Regions from separate parts of the Homo sapiens genome. Here region 1 is linked to region 2. The links are contacts of gene promoters, found by promoter capture Hi-C in human tissues and cell types (Jung and others, 2019). All regions are on one chromosome and are shown on one strand. Each heading gives the region's core, a stretch centred on a gene start or on the middle of the fragment in contact. The rest is flanking DNA. Distances are from core to core; before and after follow the strand shown.

The links. The method cuts DNA at HindIII sites, captures the fragments that hold promoters and counts their contacts. A contact is called where the count stands out against the background at its distance.
Region 1: a contact is called between a fragment that was not itself captured here and the fragment with the promoter of SIX3 in region 2, in 1 of the 25 tissues and cell types used here (H1 embryonic stem cells).

Annotation. Positions count from the first base shown.
Region 1 is chr2:44,772,473-44,780,192 of GRCh38, reverse strand. CAMKMT (calmodulin-lysine N-methyltransferase) reads right to left here. Exons shown (of 11, transcript NM_024766.5): 11 at 7,601-7,720. Among named protein-coding and RNA genes, the nearest start is that of LINC01833, 160 kb to the left of the region's middle. The HindIII fragment of the contact is 3,323 bases long and covers 4,235-7,557 here.
Region 2 is chr2:44,938,610-44,946,040 of GRCh38, reverse strand. SIX3 (SIX homeobox 3) reads right to left here and starts at 4,339. Exons shown (of 2, transcript NM_005413.4): 1 at 3,131-4,339; 2 at 1-1,473. The coding sequence starts at 3,936. The coding sequence ends at 1,281. It overlaps SIX3-AS1 (SIX3 antisense RNA 1), which reads left to right and starts at 4,163. Exons shown (of 2, transcript NR_103786.1): 1 at 4,163-4,331; 2 at 5,208-5,887. LINC01833 (long intergenic non-protein coding RNA 1833) reads left to right here and starts at 6,842. Exons shown (of 2, transcript NR_147195.1): 1 at 6,842-7,218. RefSeq lists enhancers at 1-282, 2,572-3,296, 4,379-4,905, 5,674-6,173, 6,174-6,675 and a silencer at 7,017-7,146. The HindIII fragment of the contact is 28,963 bases long and covers 1-7,431 here.

The DNA of each region.
Region 1 (7,720 bases), core at 4,647-7,146, 170 kb after region 2:
GAGTGAAGAAAGAGTCCATTTCTTGATGGAAGGAGCTGGAAAGTACTGTTGCTATTCCCCAACCCCACCAATCTACCACAAGGGTAGAGCTGGATAAATACCTACAGTATCATATTCATATTGAGATTATTGTAACCACTGATGGTTTATCTAGTCTCTTGGGGGTGAGGGTGTGTGTGAGAGGACCCAGAAGCAGCACCTGGCTGTGAGGTGAGGGAAAACCACTAACAGCTGGCAGAAATGCAAGCTGGAGACTCAAAACCTCTGTCACCCAGCCCAGAGCCGAGGTTCTCATCTTATGGGGCAGAAGGTGGGCCAACCAGGAGTATCCCTGGAGAGAGGAAAGATCTCTGGACACTCAGAAGCTGTGAGCGGCTTCATTCTCCTCCAAGCTGCTTCATACTTGCTCTCGCTTGGCATCATGAGATGCTGCTTGAGAGAGAGACAGAGGGACAGTGAGAGATCCACTCAAAATGTAGGCTGGATCAGGGATGTGGCCTCTGCTCCTAAAAATAAAGCCTGTGGAGGAAAATGAAGGCTAATGTACCTGGAGGTGGAACCATAGGTCAGGTGGGCAAAGCTTTTAAATGTACTGCCTTCTGGGTTGGGAACAGCATGGTGACATTCCCTGAAGCTCAAGGAGAGCTCGGCCATCAGAAGGCAGACTGCAGATCAAGACAGTGATGGCCTGAGCTCACTTTCCGACCTAGTCTGACAGTCACATCGTGTTCAGCTTCTACCTTTCTCACATTGGTAGGCTGCAAACCATCAAAAAGTAGAATTTCATATACAAAGCCGAGTCCTTATTCTAGATTGCACAGGTGATGCCCAGACAACAAGCCAACATTTTCAGATCCCACCGCCCAGCTTTCACCATGGACCTGGCCTGGGATGGTGCGGCCTCGGTGCCCACCGGGAAGGCAGAGTGGCCCAGCGTGGGCGGCAGAGGTGAGGGAGGGAACGCTGCTCTGAGGCCTTTTTCTTGTAGCTCCAGACAAATTAAAAACCTCCTTACCAGCCATTCATTCTGAGGAGGCCTCTTCCTTCCTCCACAGGGGGGCTGCTGTGTTGGAAGCCGATCGGATTCAGGGAGGCTGGGCCTCCCGGAGCTCTCAAGGAGGGGGAGCGGCAAGAATGGAAAGAGAGAGGCCCTAACCCTGAAGAGATTGGCAGGCAGGGAGTGGGGGCAAAGTGCAGCCCAGGTCACTGGGAAAAAAGAAATCTCAAAGTAAGGGAGTGGGGGAAAGTTCCACTTTCAGCCTAATTATGAAAGAGGCCTCGGTAGAGAGGGGCGGGGGAGCCCAAAGAAGAGAGAAAAGGGAAGTGAGATGTTGCAGAGAGCAGAAAGAGATTCTCAGGGGGCACAGGCTATTGAAGGAACGCAGGCAGGGAAAGGTGCCGCCTCTTCAAACGTGGGTCTGTTATAACTGATTTTGAGAGACCTGGAAGCATGTTCGCCTGGGACTCCCAAAGAGGGAGGGCAAAATGCCCTATTAAGGGTGGGACGAATTGATTTCCCAAAGAAGCACAGCACCATTTCCTCCAAATGCCCTCTGCAGTCCTCCTTAATCTGCCCTGGAGGCAGCAGGTGACCTCTGCACAGGCCCCTGGAGGCGCCTTTGTTCGGGGGCATTCTGCGGCCCGCCCCGCCCCCTCCCCTTGCACCTGGGCAGCAGCCTCAAAATGCACTTGTCCACCCTTGGCCGGCTCCCGTGGTGGGATGGCGGATGCCTTTGTATGTGAAAAGCCACGAGCCCTCCAACTCCTGTTTTCCCTTCGGCTTGACACATTCACTAATGTATTTCCTGTTCACTCCCAGGAGAAAAAAAGAGTGCCTGCAATACTTTATCTGGTAAGACAAGTCTGTGACTGAGACTACCAAGCGGGCCAACCCTTGCTGTTCCTGGGAGAGCCACTGCCATTCAGAAAGCTTGGCTCTGCCCTCGAATCCCCAAGTGTTCCCTGCCGGGTTCTAATCCAAGCCCTCTGAGGTTTGCTAATTTAATTGTGTAATGGTCCACACCTGAGACATTCCCTGAACTATCTTTAGGACACTACTTAGCCTAAAAGAAAGACAAATAAGAGTATTAAGACAGGGACTTAGACATTGAAAGCTTTTACCATCTCCAAAACATCTGAGTCAAGCAGAAGAAAACGGGGTGGGAGGATGAGGGGTGGCCTCAAAGTCAGAACAAGCAACAAGAAGTAAATAAAGTTCTTGCTAAGTGAGTCTGAAATATGTATTTAGCCCTTGTAAATTAAATAACACTGGTTTTTAAAGAGTGATTCTCCGAACATCTATTATTCACATCAGTAGGACAGACGGTAAGCCACTGTAAGATTTATAGAAACTAAAAGACTTCCCATGCTAAAGGTTAATGAAAGTGTAATTTGAATCATGAAATCTTTATGTGTCGGCTCAATTTACACCGAGGGCTCATTAAGGATGCGTTTGGTACAGCGGGCGGCAGGTGACGTCACATTAGTATTTAAATGGGCGGGGCCAGGCTGCTCTGCATGTAATCCTTTAAAAATATAACAGCCTCTCTCTTTCCTTCTCTGTCTCTCCAGCTGTAACAACTTCACCAACTGTCTGGGTTCCACCCCGAGGATTTCACTGAGAGAACACGTTAGAGGGAATCAGGAAGCAGAAAAAAGGTCACAAATAAGCACCTCAGGAACAATGAAAGCTTTTCTCTATGCAGCAGTGGGAGAGTTGCTAGAAAAACTGGAAAGGTATTAATCAGAAGTGGCTATAAATGCTCTGGAGTTTTGCTCTTATAAAACTCCTCAGAGAAAGTCTTGAAGGAAATGCAGGTCAAAGCCCAAAAAAGCTCTTGATCAGAGATTGCTGGAGGAAAATCTTCCCAGACGCCGTTTAATAGGCAGCAATCACCCCAGGAGTGGGGAAGCCAAGTACGCTTGAAACATGGTTGCAATTCCTAATAGGTCTTGTCACACTTAAGGCACTGCAAGCTCCATCCAACGAACAGCTGAAGCTAGCTGGCGATTCATAAAGCCAACAGTTTAAAGTTTATTATGATGAAAGCACTTAATGACAGCCATCGCTAGGGGCCCATCATTTATAAAGCTGTGCTGAGTATTAGACATGTAGCATGACCACCAATTTTATGTCACAATTGCTACCATAAAATGACCTTTGGTGATTTTTGCTGCATGTGGTGGACAGCTCTTCCTTCACATTAGTGCTCTGTGGCTTTCTTTGCAGACTATTATGCTGTCTAAAGCTTATTTGGCACTGTCGTGAGCCTCAACCCTTGCTATTACCCCGAAGGCCTGTCTTAAAAAAAAAAATCTCATGCTCTATTACGCCACTCCAATAATTTACAGTTCTTACCAGCCTTGGTTAGCGTAATATTTTAATGCAAATATGCTTTACCATTGGATTTTATTTTAAGCACACACACACACACACACACACACACACACAATTTCCCATGCTTCTGGCTAGCAAAATATCCATTTTATGGGAGTTCACTGAAATCGGCCTCTTATTCTCTGGTCAGGTCTCACTGATTGAGCACTGTTTCCTCTGGGTCAGTTAAAACATCACCAGAAAAAAAAAAAAAAAAAAAGGGTTACTTAAACTTCTGTTGAGATTTTTTTTTTTAAGATCCTATACATGATAAACCCACTTAAGGCAGAAACACCAATTCTTATTTCCCTGCATCCAGTCGCAATGCAAATTGACATTTGAGTAACATTATTTAATTAGGCTTCCATTTTTCCACCTTCTTTGTGTAGTTAGGAAATGTTTGAATACATGCCAGTTTACTGCTCCAATGTAAACTGCTGCTAAGAAAGTGGTCTGTCCACGCTACACCACCTTTAAATTGTGTATATAATTTTATAAATGATATAAAATCTGCTTCTAGCCCTGAGGAAAAAACAAACCATAAGCATGGCACACTGCAATTTTGGAAGGATTTAAAATATGTGATTTCTGCTGGTACCTACTGTATTGGGTTTTATATAAAGCTTTTTTCAATAAGGTAAATTGTTACATGACAAACTCATCTTCCACCATTATCATCTGCTGTTTGTGTTTAACAACAGGAGTCCCGCTCTAACAAAACTGTTGTAATGGCTGTACAAATTACTCAGCTGAAAGCTTTTCACCAAACAAAACAGTATTAATCAGCAGTTCTTATGAAGGTGCTAATTAAAAACAATTTTCTTCCTCAGTTTGCAATACTAAAGCCATCTTCACTTGCACAGTTTCCAATATACAGCTACTGTATTTGCTCACACTTCAGGCCCTCTATTAACTATTGAATCTCCTATTAGCCATTTTATTACATTTCTGTTTACAAGCTTGTTGACATTTTAAAAGTCACGGTATGATCTGTTTTATCTGTTAAAAAATGTATTAATTGAAAAGTCAGGGGGACAAAAAAAGCAAAATACAGACTCCAAATGCACAGACTTCCAGGGCAGAGAACACTGTGAGCATTTAGCCACAGCCTGGAAGGTAAGCTCTCTGGGTAAAATGAAATGTGAGAATTAAAAGTGGCATTTCAGGCTTAATGGTTTGATAAACACTAACAGGATCCTTCCTAATTTGGAAGTAGTCCACTCAGGAAAACATATTTACCCTGCCTAAAATCAGCCTGACTTTCAAATCCATTTTTTCTTTATGGTATACAATCAACATAATTATGATGTTTCATACAGCCTGAACTCAGGGGATTTTGATCTAGGGTGGGGATGTACCTGGAATCTGGCGGCTGGAGCCCAGATCTCGGGTCTAAATAGCTTAATCTTTCCTGTGAGTGTGTGTGTGTATATGCTTGTACATATACTTTGACTCTCTCCCCTATGTGGGCATTCTGCCCCACCCCCAGAGTCCAGTGAGAGGTTCTTGCCAGACAATGCTAATGAATTGTCTGGCATAGATTGGAAACAAGTCAAATGCTGACTAAGCACAAAGAAAATCCATGGAAGCTAGGTTCCTATTAAAAAACAAAAACCACCTAACCCTCATGAGCAGGTTGCCCCACTTTGGTAGCAGAGAGATGGAAAAAAACACCACTACCTCCTGCCTCTGGTATTAAAACCAGGTTCTTCAGCTGTCAAAAGCAGTTAACTAGTTTAGGACAGACACCTGGCTGTTGAAATAGGGCTCCAGAGGGCAACTAATCCTTCCATTCACTCAGTTAACTGCTGGATCCCCCAAATTGATTCAACAGGTATGCAGTGGTAAATTCAGCCCATACTGAAGCCAAAGGGAAAATCAGCAAGGGGCGGGCAGCTCTTCTCTGAAAACACCCGAGGAACTAGCCAGAAAAGCTTTTATGGCCCTGACAAGTTTTCTGCTGAATACTGAGCACCTAAATTACCCTTCCCTAATGGAAGTTACATTTTCATGCTCAGTCAAAAAGCCAACAAAATACACAATTTATACAAAATAGCATCAACCTCTTAGGTAGTCTTTTCTAGCACTTTTATCCCAATTCATGGCATATGTCTTGCTATAAAGTAAAATATATTTCTTATAACCAACTTGTATGTAGCTATTCATCTCACAGCATTAGAACTGACCACGGGCAATATTAGAAACATTCTTTCATCCAACCAAATCTACTTAGTATGACAAAGGAAAATCATGAGTTTTATCAGAAGATAAAGGTACACAAAGAAAAGAAATATTATTCTTAGGATTTCCTAAGCAGACAGGCTTCCTTTCTGAAACAAACACATGCATAATTACATAGGCAATTATGGAATGGGCCATTTCAATTGCAATTGACTCATAGAAATAATCATAAAGTTCAAAAGAAATGTAAATGGACAAACTTTCAAAGCTGCTCTATTTCACTTTTCAGTATCGGCATTCCATTAAACTTCGGGAAAATAAAAACTAAAATTATTCAATAATATAGAACATTTCTTACAAACTTTCAAAGAACCTGGACTACAGAGATTTCCAGGTGAGGATCCCATGAAGAGCAGATCTAGGAAACCCTTAACATTGTATAGGAGATTCTCTAGGTTTTAATTACATAATAAGTGAATTTCCTTACTACGTATCTCTTGGTAGCAACAGTTCAATTCTGAAACACTGTTCTCAGATATTTAAAAAAATACATTCCTAGTTTACTTTTTAAAATATAGTATCTCCCAGAGACATAAACACTGGATTTCTCCACCCACAACACACAAATACAAATTGAATTCTTGCCAATTCACGTATTTTCTTGAGAGAAAAAAGAAAATATTCTCATAGTCCTGCTGTTCCATATTTAAAAAGAAAAAAGAATAGACCATCTTAGGTGCTACTACAGGGATGCGTTTTCTTTGTCTGGCAGAGTTAGTTGCAGGTTTTACACAGGAAATAATTTTGCTGTATTTTCACCAGTATAAATGGAATGGCTTGTGTTGCCTTTTAAAACATGCCAAATTCTAATTTTTAAACAAGAAAATATGAAGCCAGTGTGCAACCTATACAGTCACCAAAGGAGAGCTGCCACTAGCTGAACTACTCAGCTAAATGGCTGGTTTGCATTGCCCTGGTCTTTATCTAGCACTGAGAATAGACTGCTGTTTTATCCAAAGAGGAATAAATTGCTGTTATTGTGATGTTAGCCCATCACTTGGCATTGCAATTCAAGTTTTTGTGAGAAAGAAATGTATGATCTAACTGCGACTTGACCTATGCCTTCTGAGATCCATCTAGGTGCTCTAATGGAGCAGAAAAAGTGGTGAATACAAGGACATGCAAACTGATGGTGAAAAATTTGTTTGATGATAGAAGTGAGCAGAGAAGACATTTGAGAGTCGCTGCTTTTATGACAGCTAAGTTTGTTTAACATGCAAAAGGATGCACCCCCAGTCTCTCACCTATCACTTTAATTGTATCACACTGAATACATGTTTTTGCCTGTACTAAAGACATGAGGATATATAGCTAACCTACTAATGACATTACTGCTAAAGTGGGCACAGATGATTCCTTACAGATAAACATCTGAATTTCCACAAAAGGCATTAGAGCATCTCATGGATGCACTAGGCAAGGATAAGCTTGGGTTCCCTGCAGAAAAGTCATTCTCTCTTAATCCTAGGTAGCACCTATTAAATGTTTACCATACACTTGAATCACAGCATATAACAATATATACTTATTTTAAATAAGATAATTGTGTGATTGAGTTTTTAAAAAACTCCCCCTGGTTGCAATCTGGTTTATCAACCATTTACTCAAAATTTCTCTGGGAAGGACCTATTTTGAAAGAGGCCTGGAGAACAGCAGCAGTTAGATTTAAGCCCTGATAAAGGCTCACTTTTCATTCATAGTCAGAGCCTAAATGTGCTCTTCTTGTACCTAAACAGATAATAAGCACTCAGCACACTCCCCCTCCTTGACACAGCACACTGAGACTAATCACACATAATTGGGGAGGAGGAGCAGAGGGCTGGCCACGCTATTGTGTCCAGAGGACAAACGGTCAGTTTATGAGGCTTTGGGCTGATGTAGTCATTTCTTATACATCTATAGGAAAAAAAACATACTGTTTAAAAGGAAAAAAAGAAGGAGAGAGAGGGACAGAGAAAGGGATGGCGGATTTAATACAATTAATTGGAGGGAGATAAAAAGATACACTTTATTTATTTTTCTAACCAGGAAAGAATCATGATATTTGCTGGGTTTACTGATTAAAAACTACCACCACCAAAACAGAACAAAGACCAAAAAAAA
Region 2 (7,431 bases), core at 3,090-5,589:
TTAGAAAGTTTTTACATATAGATAAACACGCAGTTTAAGATAACAGTAAAAGCGCCCTACAGGGAGTGAGAGATACCTCTGAAGCTGCTAAGAAATACTGGAAATAGCTTTTGCATAAGAATACTACAATCTCACTCTCCGCTTTTGCTAGCGACAGGGTCCCTCTTCCTAACCCAGGCCACCATGCCTCTCCTTGACTGCCAAGTCGACACCAGGAGCACCGAGTGGGAGGAGAACCCCAAAAAGAAAAGAGACAGTTGAGCGGGGAGAAAGACAGAGAGAGGGAGAGGAGAGAAAGAGAAAGGGAGAGGAGAAAAAGCAATATCATATACAGGCAATTTCTACACATATATTACAAACTGGGAAAATGACCGATCATTAAGATATACATAATTCATATAAAATTTTGAAATAAAAATAAAAATCTGTTACAGTCATAACTATTCTTTTTCCACATTTATAACCAGTACCCACACAGGCAGTGACAGAGTGGAGAGAAAAAGGTGCTTACGAAGAAAATGATTGTCTGCTGAACAAAAAACAGAAGATTGCATTTTTTTGACCAATACTTGACTTAAAAACAGAGAGAAGAAGAGAAAGAAAGAGAGCGAGAGAAAAAAAAAGAGAGAGAGAGCAACAAAAGGCAAGACACATTTGCTATTTCCCTCTCCAGGAGTTCTTTTTTTTTTTTTTTCCCCCTGTCCTTTTTTTTTTTTTTTTTTTTTTTTTTAACAAATTCGGAACGGAGACGGCGATTTTTTTTCTTTTTGTCTGTTTTGCTTTTGCCCTCTTGTCCTCGTGGTGGTGATTGATTTTTGTATAGTCGACTCTTTAAATCATTTTTAACTAGAGAGAATATTTTCCCAGATACAAATAAATCGTCATGCAGGTGGGGTGCCGGGTCCATGGGAACCGAAAGGAGAAGCCGTGCTTGTCCTAGAAAGTATACAATTGTCACCTCTTTTATGTTTTCTGCCCGCAACATCAGCGTTTGACTGTCTGTTGGCGTCGGGGTCCTTTGGGGTGGCCGTAGTGGTAGATGGTGGTTGGGGGTTGTTGATAGTTTGCGGTTAATTTGTTATTTTCTTGTTTTTTATATATTTTTGGCTGGGGTGGGAGTGTGTGTGGACTTGTATGTGTGTATGGTTGGGTATCCTGATTTCGGTTTGTTCTGGGGATGGAGGAGGAGAAGGAAGAGGAGGAAGAGGAGGAGGGCTAGGAGGCGGAGGGGAAGGAGTGGGGGAGGAGGGGAAGGAGAGGGAGGAGGGCGGCCTTGGCTATCATACATCACATTCCGAGTCGCTGGAGGTTACCGAGAGGATGGAGGTGCCGGTGTCTGCGCGCTCCGTCAGGCTGGACACGCTGGTGGTCGGGCTGGCCGCCGTGGACGGCGACTCTGCCGAGCCGTGCGTGGGGCAGCCGGGCTCGGCCAGCGAGCGCATGCCGCTCGGTCCAATGGCCTGGTGCTGGAGCCTGCGGGAGAAAGAGATCCGCGCCCGCCCTGACACAGAGGCCCGCCACCCGGCTCCCCCGCGCCGCCGCTCCCCATTCCGCTTTCGGGAGCATCCCAAGTCTTCTCAGATAGAGGCTGGCCTCGGAGGAGAGGCAGAACCCGAGCCCGGCCGCTTGGGGAGGCCTGGGTGCAAGCGACAAAGTACGCCAAGCCCTGGAGAAGCAGAAGTCGGAGAGGAGCCGGGCGCTTCTTCCCTCCGCAGTCCCTGGGGCTCTTCAAACTGAGCCGGCTGCCCCGCGACCGGTCGAGTTCCCCTAGTAACCCCGTCCCTGCTCCCTCAAACACACACCGGGAGCTGCGGGTTCCCCACCGCCCGGCCAGTCTCCGGGTAGAACTGCATACTTTGCTCTCTGGATGCCAGCGCAGAGCGCAGGACCGAGGGTAGAGAAAATAGGAAAGCTGGCGGTGGAAAAGTGGGGAAAGAGCAGGGAGACAGAAAAGGGGCAAAGGAGAAGGCAAGAGAGGCGCACAGAGCAGTCTCCAGCTGCCCTTTCCCCCACCGGGAACCTTCTGCCTGGACCTGGTGTCTGGAATTCTCTCCACAAGGAGGCCTTGGCTTGACCCTGGGCGCTCCCCTCATCAGACGAAAAGTGGGCTCCACGGCAGGGGTGAGAGGGCCATGGGCTCAGGTCCCGGCCGCCTAAACTCGAACACACCTCCAGAAACTCACACCCAGCCCCCACCCACGGGCAGCTGTCAGCAGCTGGGGGTCCTGCTCCCTGAAGTACACCAGGCCCTGGGCCTTCCTGGCTGGATAGAGAAAGACACAGGCTCCACATCAGGGCTTTCACCCAACTTCCTCTTTTCTTTCTCCCTTCTCTCCCCACTCCTTTCGCCTATCCACTTCTTTCCCTCTGGTTCTTTTTCTCCTTCCCCCAGGCCCAGCTCCTGTGATGTTGGTCAAGCCCTATACAATTTTGTGACTTTGTGGCCAACTTGCCGGCAACGAGGCTGCTCGTGCCCGCTTCCCAGCTTAGAGGACCAAAGGGATTCTCCTCGGCTGAAACAGGAGGGCGAGTACATGCACACGGGCGTGCACACACACACGCACACGCACACGCTAGGCCTCTCCACTCCCAGCCCGGCTCTCCTGCTCCCGGTCAGGCAACGTGCAGCGTTGCGGGGAAACAGGCCCGCTGCGCAGTGGCCTCTGGCCTTTTCCCCTTGTGATAGGGACCCAGGTTCACTTTCCTCTCTCTGACGCTAGTGGATTTCTCTCGGGGTTTTGCAACGCACAGAAATAAGAACCAGATGGCAAAGAGTGCTTTCCTTCCCTCCCTGTCTCTAGGCTCCAGAGGATCGCCGAGCTGGCGGCAGGGCTGAGGAGGCAGGCACGGGTGCAGCGCAGGGCTAAGTCTCCCAGGGGCTGCGGGTACTCGGGTCGCAAGCACACACTCTCTGCCCTGACGAAAGCCCCTCTTGGTCAAAGCAATCAATACACCCACAGCCAGCCCGGCCCCCTCTTCCGCGCGTCCCGGACAAGCGGAAACTTTCTCCGACTGGCCAGGAGTCACGGCTTCCCTGGCTCTCAGCGGCCGCTCCGCTAGCCCCATCTCAACCCCTCTCCCCTTCCCAGGCCTCTGAGGCTGTAGCCAGGCCGCGGGCCCCGCCACTAACCTGTTCTTGGCCGCCGCGGCGCGGTCGCGCTGCCGCCGGTTCTTAAACCAGTTGCCTACTTGTGTGGGAGTGAGGCCGGTGGCCTGCGCCAGTTCGCGTTTCTTGCTGGGGTTGGGGTAGGGGTCCTGTAGGTACCACTCCCGCAACAGGCTCCGAGTCCGCTCCTTGAAGCAATGCGTCTTCTGCTCGCCGTCCCAGATGGTGCGTGGCAGCGGGAACTTCTTGCGCACGCGGTACTTGTCCACCGGGCCGAGTGGGCGGCCGCGCAGCTTCTCGGCCTCCTGGTAGTGCGCCTCGAGCCACATGGCCTGCAGCTTGCCGTGAGACTCCTTGGTGAACTTGTGGTTCTCAAGGATGTGGTAGAGGTCGCGGAAGTTGCCCGTGTGGAAGGCGACCACGGCGCGCGCGCGCAGGATCGACTCGTGTTTGTTGATGGCCTCGCACGCCCCGGGGGCCACGGGCAGCGACCAGAGGAAGCGGCCCAGCCGCTCGATGTCGCCCGTCTCCTCCAGCGTCTCACAGACGCTGGCCACCTGCTCCGGCGAGAAGTTGAGGGTGGGCAGCTGGAACATGGACAACTCTTCCGGGGGGGCCCTGGAGCCGCCGCCGCCGCCGCCGCCTGCTCCGCCAGCACCGCCGCCTCCCGCACCGTTCCCGCCGCCGCTGCCGCCTCCCGCGCCGCCGCCGCCTCCCGCACCGTTCCCGCCGCCGCTACTCGCCAGAAGTATGGAGCGGTGGTGAGAATCGGCGAAGTTTGGCAACAAGAAGTGGGAGGAATAGAGGTCTAGGGGGGAGCGGAATACCATGGACTGACCTGAGAGGAGAGGAGAAAATTCAGGGAGAGGAAGAGAGAGGGGAGGAAGAGGAGGAGAGGGGCGATGAGGACCAGGAGGAGGGAGAGGAGAGGGGGGAGGAGGAGAAGGAAAGGAGGGGGGAGCAGGAGGAGGAGGGAGAGGAGGAAGGGCGTAAGGGACACCCACACCCCACACACATCCACACACACACACACCCGCGCAGCCACATAGAGAGGGAGGTAGGAGAGCGGCCCGGTGCGCGCGCGCAGAGAGAGAACCCGAGACAGAGAGGGAGAGGGAGAGGGAGAGAGGAGAGGGAGAGCCAACCACCGCCGAGTCAAGATTCAGCGATTCCACCGCAATCGCCCTAATGACAACAGCCTCATAATATCTCCCCTAAATCCACAGTGAGTGCAGCATTGAAACATTTTGTTTCGCTTTTCTATTGGTCTGTGGCGTGTCGTTGTGGCGTTGCCACGGCAACCACTGCCAATCACTGTCAGCCCTGCCAATCAATACCGAGAACGTAAGGACGGTTTTACCACTTAGCCAGAGGGCGGGGGGAGGGGGAGAGCAGGGAAGGAGGGAGAAGTGGGGGGATAAAGAGAATTTTTTTTATCTTTGCAACTCTTAATCTCGCTACCTCCCCCTCCTCTCTTCTCTCTTCTCCCTCTCTCTCCTCTTTTCTCTACCGCTGTCTCTGAGACTTCTTCTTCCCTTTTTCCTAAAGAAGTTGATCCAGAAATTCGAAAAGCCCTGGGCAGAGTTGTTGAATGGGATGTGCAATTAGAGAGGGGATTTTGTTGGGAGGCAAGAGGGTCCCCCAGGCTCCACATAGTCCAGGTCGGCAGGCAAGGAAAGACGGCTGACCAGCCCAGCGGGCGCGGTTTGCACATGGTTTGCACGTCGGGCCGCCTCTTTCTGCCTATGTGAGCACTAATAGTGGCAAGGAAGAAAGGAGAGATGAGATCATGGGGCCCACCAAGCACCGACCTTGGCCCAGCGGGCCGTGGCGCCAGCCGGGGATCCCGGATTCCGAGGGTATCTGGCGCCAGGGAGCCTGAGCCCAATTCCCAGGGTGCTGGAGGCCGCTCTTGCCTCCCCCATCGGTGCCCATGGACCGCATTCACCTCAACTCCCTCTTCATCAATTAGGCTTCTCTTTACTCCCTCCCCGGCCAAGGAGCCTCGATTTCCCCCACCACCCTGTATTTTAAAATAACAGTCCAAACAGTACACTTCTTTCCATCTTAAGAAGCAACTCAACTCTTTGTTTCTTCCCAGAATTCAGCTGCCTCTCTGAGGAGTGGTGGAGGAGCTGCGGGAGCCGAGAAGCCCAAGAGCCCTCTGGACCCAGAAAAGTCCTACAGATGCCCACTCCTCACCACACAACAGAAGGAGCTCTGGTCCTGCCTGCCAGCCCCAGAGGGCACTCAAACTTTGGAGGCCAGCCACCCGGATGAAGTGAATAAGGCCTGAAAATTGCTTGTTTGCTCGTATTGTAAAATAATAATAATTACCATTATTATTTTTAAACTGTCTAATTTCTCTAGGGAAAGTAACATCGAAAGCCTAAAACAGACGCCAAAAGGCCCATAGAACACAGAGGGCCCTCTCTGCCTCTGGCCACCACAGCCCCTAGGCCAGGCATGGGTATTTATTCTTAGGTATGTTGCTTTTAAGAAGCTGTAATCAGCATCTTGAGCCGGGCCTCCCTTTGTGAGGCTTCTGTAACTATGGAAGTGTGATTTACGCAGATTTGTCGGGGTCAGAGACGTCTTTCCCTGAGCACTGTGTATATTTAGACAGGACTCGGTTTGGTGTTAAAAAGTGTATATGTTGAATGGATTCACACACAGTAGCCAACAATGACCACATTGTCGGCCCGTGTACAACGCGTATTGAAACGCAGCGCCCAGACTTCAACTAATCTGCCCTCAATAAAGCTGAAATAATTATCCTAAGCTGCCTTTCCAGAAGAAAAATCATTGAGGAATTCAAAACTTTTTTTTTTTTTTTTTAAAGATCTTTTCTGCATTCCGATGCAGATCTGGGGGCAAGGCGCCGTGTCCACACCACTTTGGTGATCTCAATGAGGGAAGAGAGAAAGAGAGGTTGAGAGAGAATTTAAATGGGAAACCTAACGTGACTGGGGCTGTGAGTGTCCCAGCCCCTAAACCCCGAGCTGGAGCCCTGCTTAGGCCTTGACTCCCGCAGTGCCAGGCCTCTGAGGGCCGGGGAGAAGAGCAAGCCGACAAGTGCAAGCCTCCTTGGAGGATTCCGGGCGGCAGGGAGGCCCTGGGTCCGGCGAGGGGCCAATACTGGCTCACTTAGCCAGAGACAGCCGTGGGGTAGCAGGTCTTCAACACGACGACTGGGGCAGAAAAATATTCCTCCAAAGGGAAGACCTGCCAAGCCCCATTTCAGTGCTCTCTCCACTCCATATATATTTCCTCTCCTCCTGGCCATGAGTCCTTCTCCACGCAGCTGAAAGCTCTGGGCGGTCATTCACTGAGGGCCCAGAAAGAGCCCAAAGGTTGGGACACAAAAACAGACACTTCATGTTTTCTTCCCGATCCCTTTCTCTCGTAGGGGAAGGATTATAGGCTGAAGGGTGGGAGGGGGAAGGGGCAGGAGGAGGAAGCGGGGGAGGAAGGAATGAAAAAGGGGAGGGGAGTGGGTATTGTGCCGCGTGTGGGGGGAGAATTCCTACGGGTGGGTTTCCGAATATTGTGTTCAACTTTTTGAAAGCAGCTCGTGACCCCGAAACTGCATCCCCCGGAGCCGGGGACCCAGGCGCCGGGCGGGCGGGTGAACCCGGTCAGTCCCCTCCCCGTCCCCGAAACCCCCGCCTCCGGGTGGTGGCGACCTGGCCTCTCCCTGCCACTGCCCGGCCAGCCCCGGAGGGAGGCTGGGCAGGTGCTGCGGGCTCTGCCGAAAGCGCTGAAATAAAAAACCATCGCCACTCAGGGAGAACTGAGGCAAGTGGGGCTGAGACTCTGGCGACACCCCCGCCCCCCAGCCTCTGCCCCAGCGCCTGCCGCCCTGCCGCCCTGCCGCACCCCGCCTGCTTGGGTGGCGACCGCGGTTCCGGAACGCGAAGCAGGGCAGAGGGCTGCAGAGAGGCGTGTAGCTTTGTGCGCCAGGACCCGGTGGGGCAGGTGGCAGCCCCGGGCTGTCCGCGCCTCCCAGCAGAGCCGAGCTCGGCGCCGCCCACCGAGCCCACCTCGCGGTCCAGCCGCCGCCAGCGCCTTTCGGCTCTGGCCTGAAGCAGTACTCCCGCCTCCTGGAGCGGGTAAGTTGAGAGTCCGGAGAGCAGGGCAGGGAGGCGGGGCGGCTGGTCCCAGAGCGGAGGGCCGGACTGGCTCCCCGCCGGGCTGGGGGCGCAGGCTCCATAGGATCTCAGTCGAGGGGTTCTGAGTGCGTGTTTGGGTGGGAAGCAGGGCTGTGGAGCGCCAGAGCTTCCCCTCCCAAATTCCCAGGCGCTGGGCACTGGGGAGTGGAGCAG